Linked DNA regions of Homo sapiens: region 1 is linked to region 2. Evidence: promoter capture Hi-C in human tissues and cell types (Jung and others, 2019). All regions are on one chromosome and are shown on one strand. The core of a region is centred on a gene start or on the middle of the fragment in contact, and the rest is flanking DNA. Distances in the headings are between cores, read along the strand shown. Region 1 overlaps PLXNA4 (plexin A4). Region 2 holds the start of EXOC4 (exocyst complex component 4).

Region 1 (3,226 bases), core at 242-2,741, 700 kb after region 2:
TATTTTCAGTATTTACATCTCATATTCCCACTTAATTGCAAGCTTCTTGAAAGCAGGCATTGTCTTAGACACATTTGCAGTTCCCTCTGGACCCAACATAAGGTTGTTTGATTGTCTCTCTCTCTCTCTCTCTCTCCCTACCTTAAACTTGGTTTTCTGAGCTTGAAAAGAGAAGTATTTGAATGGTAGGACAGTAGAGGGCATTACACATCCTGAAACAGCTGCGGATCTACAGGAAGTGGGAAGTAGCTTCCTGGCGAAGTCTGCAGGCAGTGATGTCCATGTCTTGGTGATTATTCTTCCATACAATTATCATTTTTCACCAGCTGATGGTAAACAGAGCACCTAATGAGTTGGTCTCTAGACCACAGACGTACCATATTGCTTGGTAGGCACAGAGGAGCTGCAGATAACATCTTTTTCAAAATGAAAACTCCATTAAACTTGGCTGACTTCCTGTTGTCTTTGGTCAAAAAGTCCAAAGGTTTTGCAAAGGTGAAAACTTTTTTTTTTTTAAAAAAAAGATAAATTAAAGGAAAATTCAAGGAAATAAAGAGATTTTTATTCAAGGGCTCCTTGGTAATTGATTGCCTATCTTTACGTCCCCCCCTGCCGCCATTTCCTCCATCTTCTGTGAAGAAAATCTTAAGTTGTAGGTTTTGATAAACTCTCCTGCCACCTCTTTTCTCTGAGCCAAACATCCTGGCTGTGCTGGCAAGTTGGGAGCCTTTGCAGGGGATGGGAACAACTCAACTTCAGTAGCACGTGATAGAGGGTTCCTTCTCTTTTAACTGCTTTGCACATTGATGGAGAGCTCATTGCTTCTCATGGTGCAGGTAGGTCTGACTCCACATCTAATTTTGTGACTGATCACAGGTGCAGGTCACCATCTGCAGGAGGTGTGGATAGCAAAGCCCAATGTCAAAATTCATTCATGTGGCAGGGTTTCTGGGCAGCCCCCATCCCACTGCTGGTTCGTAACCAGTGGGTCTCTAAGCTTCTCCCACCCTCATTATATGTGTGTCTTACACAAACTTCTGCCACCTGGTACTTTATTCATTAATATTTTTTGAAGCCTAAAATTTGAATTTATGTTTGTCACATTCAATTTCTTTTTGGGGTTCCAGTTTTGACCCTGTTTCAGGCTGCTAAGATAGTCTTAAACTTTGTTTCATCCTCATCAATGGGTTGAGTCTTACTCTACTATTAAATGACTTCTCTCATATTATCTCATTTGACCTTCACAAGTCCTGGAATCTGTCCGTTGCAAATTTGATAAATGTGACTCTCAGTCTTCATTCAACTTACGGATAAAAGTATGAAACAGCACAGCGCCAAGGACGGAACCCTTTGACATGGCATTTTCTGAAGAGCTTCCCTTTTGGGTTTGACAAATAACCATTGATTCACTTTCTTTAGGCTCCAGAAGCAGGGGAGCACCCAGGACCCAGGATAGACTTTGGAGGCAGACAGGTCTGGCACTGCAACCCAACTTAATGCCAACTTGGCCATGCCCAATGGGCAGATTATGTGGGGACTCATTTCCAGTGATTATAGGCAGGTGAGAGCTATGGGCCTTCTCCTCCACAACCTTCCTACAAAAGCAAGTTGCAGACTCAATTCTACCCTACCTACCAATATTTGTTAGTAACCAGGCACATAAATAGCCATACAGCCTGTTTTTGAAGCTCAGTGTGGATCCTGCTGTCTGCCTCAACTAGTGTGCCGGGGAAGGGTATCAAGGTTTGCTGATATAGCGGGTCACCTCAACCCTGCAGGTGGACAGCCAGAGGGCACGAGGGGCATGCAGCAGCAGAAGCTCCCTCTCTGGCCCCAGGGTGTGGTAAAAATATTATCACTTTCTGCAAGTGTCAGGAAGTGAGAAAGTTTGGGAGGCACTGACTTAGTAACTCTTACAAGTTTATTTCAAGGAAGATTTATTTGAGGCAGATGTGGCAATGTGGTTGCAGGTTTCAGCTCACCTTCTAGTGGGATTAGAGGACAGCATCCTTTGAGAGATGAAATAGACCCTAGTAGGACCCCTAGGCCAAGAATGGAGCCACAGAGGGCTCTAGGCTTGCCAGATTCTTGTGCCCAAAGGGCAGAGATGCCTGGATGGCATTTCTAACCAATTATGCATATTCGACACTGCTTAATTTCCTGCTGATAAATTGTTTCCAACATCTCTTATGTTTTTTAACAAACAGTGTAGACTCTGATGCAAGGCTTTCAAAGGCTAAGTCACCAGCCCTGGTTAGTTACAATACTTCAGATGTCGACTAACCATCCTTGGGTAAGGATTGGAACTAACTTACATTATACCACTCTGTTTAAGCTGATGCATTTTAAAGTAATTTACAGACATCATCAAGCCTTGGCTACTCAGCTGTGTGGCGTCAGCATGTTACCTGTCTTCTCTGAGGTTCAGTGTCCTTATCATTAAAAGAGTAAAATAAGGGACTGCTCTAACAATTAAGTGACATAATACGTGGGAAATAGCTTGCACACTGCTTGACACATATTAAATGCTCAATAAGTGGAGAGGTAATATTATTGAAAATTGTTGCCTGTTCTTCAGATTCCTAAAGCTTGTCAGTTCTGCTTCTTGCCACCCTGTGTTGGATTAAAACACTTCAGTTTTCTTGGTTTATAAATAGTCACATCTGTTTCTAACACTGGGCTTCAACAAGTCTACTGCCTTGAGGTTCTATAAGCAAATGGGAAGGGAAGAAGAGCAGGTGGCTGGTCCCATTGCATTAATTCTGGCTCTCTGTCAGAGTATGACCTCTTAAAAAAAGATTTAAAAATATTTGTAGGGATTCCTTTATTTTTGGAAGACTCAGAATTTTCTCAGAGTCTAGAATTAACAGCCACGTTTATATATTCAATCTGTGCTCAGATCAGCCATCCACATGTAAACATACGTTATTTTTATAGGACCTGGAGTGATATCTTAGATAATGTGGTTTTTTTGCCAGGCCATGGTGATGGTTACTGTTTTTTTTTTGTTTTTTTTTTTCCTTCAGGTTTACCACCCAAGACTCTGAATTTGGTGTAGGGAGAGCAGATAGGAGACTCTTGGCTCAAAGCAGTGGCTAACCATTAGTGAGTAATTATTGCCTGGAGCCTACCTGATAATTATGCCAAGCATTGCAGGATGGGGCATCTGCTAATGTTTGCCTGCAACGAAGTCAGAAAGCTGAAGTGGTCCATCAGAGACCAGAGA
Region 2 (3,092 bases), core at 570-3,069:
GGCCCTGAGGAAAATACAAATAGCATAAAAGAAATGGGAACAGCCTGGAGAATCAAAAGTACACAGATGAGATGACACATTTCACTTTCATTAGAAACAGCCACTCCTCCTGGATTTCCATAACATTTCATGTCTCTCTCGTAGTCTTATGTCATCATTTTTACTGACATGTTTTATCCCCCAGGTAAACTATACTCTCCTCAAGGGTAACACTGTGCCTGCTTCATCTTTGCAAAACTCAGGGCATTTACTCATTAAGTCAACAAATATTATTCAATATGTAATACGTGCCAGACGCCATACTGTCAACTGGCACTAAATACCTATTGTTTAAATAAATGTTGACTATAAGGTAGAAAAAACAAACAAGTTCAAAAAAGGATCCAAATAATGTCCTGGTATTCTAATTCCACAGGAAATTCAGATGGGAAACAACAAACATTCTTATTGGAATTTTAGTATCATGAGATACATCTACACTACCTGCGTATTGTCACAGCGAGAATGTGGGCCTATAGATTCACAATACAACAGCACTTCCTCTGTATGGCCTACCAAGTATATTAAGCATTTCCACACAGAGATGTTTTTCTCTTAAGCCCAAAAGAAAATTAAAGTAATGATTTAATAGGCCATAATCTTAAAGCCTCCTAAATAAGACCCATAAGATGTGTCTTTGTCAGTGAGTGGTAAGCTGTTCTAATGGTTTGATACATGCATTCATTGAAGTGCTTAGTACCTACCAGATAATGTTGGGCCCTGGGTTTTGAAAAGATGATCAATACATTCCAGAAAACTTGCAAGAACTCAAACAAAAGTTTAGTATAGGTGGGGAAAAATAGAGTGTTTGTTTATGAAAAATAAACGAGTTGAAATTCAAATGCCAACAACGTAAAAAACGTGCCATAATAAATTTTATTTAGATTGGTTTTAGTCAGTACCTGCATCATATCCAAGATTCTTGAAAGGGTTCCCCCATCCTCAATATATTTCGCTTTTTTAAAAAAAAGCTCCTAAAAGATCCACCGCTCCCACTCCACCCCCACCCTAATCTTCTGGGAGGTGCAGAGGGGCAGTGCATGGAGGATAATTTGAAATTGGTTTGGTTCTGTTTTTTAAGGAATGGACCAGAATGCGGAGGCAGGGCAAAAAATTGAAAACCGATGTGTGCCTTCAAACCCAGTCCTCCTACCAGCTCACTGCAGATTCTTGTATTTGTGGCTGTGGCCACGCACAGGTGGTTGAAAGTATCCAGAGTGTGAAAACACAAATCTGCAACTCGTGACAGGAATCTCCGGACTCCAAGGCCTTACACCCCAAAGTCCAGGAAACAAGACGCCTTTCTCAGTGAGTGCTGCTACAGGCAAACAATAAACAAGCATTTTAGGAATCAATAAACACACCTTTACACCTGGTTTTCTCTACCAAACCCAAATAGCGTGCTTTGGGGTCCCGAGACTGTAATAGAAGGTGCTGCCCCTAAAGAAAAGACTGAGGCGGGGCTCCTCTCTCTATAGCTAACCCCAGAAAAAAAAGGTGGAGGGGGAATTGCTGGGGCCCTGGGGAGGGGTTAGAGCCCTGGGGAGGGGCTGCGGGAGGCAAGGAGGAAAGGGGAGAGCAGGGTGGGACCCAGCTAACCCTTCTCCCTTCCAAAGCGGAGGTCGAGCCGCTGCCCCCAGTCCCCAGACCCTGCCTCCTGCCTCCCTCACCTGATCACAGAGATGAGCAGCCCCGAGGGGTCTTTGCTTTTGCTGACTGTGCTTCTGTATTTCCCACCAGCTGCTTCTGCCGCCATCTTGGACGCGGGGAGAGCCGCTAGGCTCCAAGGAAGCCAAGGGTGCGTAAATTCTGTATTTGACCCCGCAGGAGTCTCCACCAATGGGTGAAGAGAATTCCAGAGGCGCGGAAGTGGAAAATCCAATCACTGAAGTGAGGAGGCGGGACTAAGGGAGCAAGTTTTGAGGCCACGACGCGCGTGTTCTCTCTAAGCACTCTGGGAGTCGTAGTTTTCCTTCTCCGTCTCCTGGGCGCGCAGGAAAGCTAAACCAGCTGCAACTTCCTAAGTCTTGTAATGAGTGTCTTCATTTATCTTTATTCTGACTTCCAGCTTTTTTCAGTTTCCTTGCTTTTAGAATTTTGTCAGGCTTTAAATCAAATTTATCTGATGATGCCAAAATGTGTTAGGGTTTGTATTTAAATGAAAGAGGGGTTCTCTGCCGGATGTCTATGTGCGAAGTTTTTGCCTTAAGTGCAAGTGATTTTTTAAAAAATCCAATAAAATACGAAAATGAATATAAGCAGAAATGCTTTTCTTTAGTATTCTGTAAAACTAATGTTTCTACATTAGGTTTATGTGGAGTTCAATTTTTCCCAATGTTCCTATATTTCCAGATAGTTCTAAAACCACACGTACAGGAATAAATGAATATTGATGAAGAAAAGACAGTATAAGCTAAAAACAAACAGACCACACTGCAGATTCCTTTTTTTTTTTTTTCAAGCTAAATGAAATACTTAGTAGTAATGCACATTTGTGTTAATACTTTTACCGGTAAGTTTTTAGTATTTCCTGCATTTGGTTCCGTTGGCTTAGTCATTAATTCATAAGACCAAATGAACAAAACAAAACAAAAAAGACCAGAATGTGCGTGGAAAGTGGTTAGACTGAGGAACAAGAATAATAATAATTTAAAAGTAAGGAAGGAGGTGGCCTGCTCAGTAGCAATAAAGATTGAAGAACTTAAAGGAATAGAAAGCAAACTAACTCAGAGGTCATGGAGTTGTGAGCAGCAAGCTCAGAACACATCAATTACTTTTATTAAATAGACATCGAGCTGGTAGAAGTTCACATTTTTAAAAATTAGTTGAAGATAACACACACACACACACACACACGATAACTTAAAAGTATTCATAACCTTTGGCCCAATAATTCCAGTTCTAGGGACTTTGTTCCTAAAGAAATATAGAGTATTGACATTTTTTAAATAACACAGAAGAATTAAATAAATTATGTAACATTCAAATGAGGAAATAACATATAGCTTCTGGAAATCATAATTTTAATGGCTTTTAAAGAAAATAAGATTTTT

The links. The method cuts DNA at HindIII sites, captures the fragments that hold promoters and counts their contacts. A contact is called where the count stands out against the background at its distance.
Region 1: a fragment that was not itself captured here is called in contact with the fragment with the promoter of EXOC4 in region 2 in 2 of the 25 tissues and cell types used here (aorta and dorsolateral prefrontal cortex).

What each region holds. Positions count from the first base shown.
Region 1 is chr7:132,554,839-132,558,064 of GRCh38, reverse strand. The region is part of intron 1 of PLXNA4 (plexin A4); the gene reads left to right. Among named protein-coding and RNA genes, the nearest start is that of PLXNA4, 20 kb to the left of the region's middle. The HindIII fragment of the contact is 3,227 bases long and covers 1-3,104 here.
Region 2 is chr7:133,251,805-133,254,896 of GRCh38, reverse strand. It overlaps EXOC4 (exocyst complex component 4), which reads right to left and starts at 1,819. Exons shown (of 18, transcript NM_021807.4): 1 at 1,710-1,819. The coding sequence starts at 1,795. RefSeq lists enhancers at 1,733-1,792, 2,003-2,052. The HindIII fragment of the contact is 9,010 bases long and covers 1-3,092 here.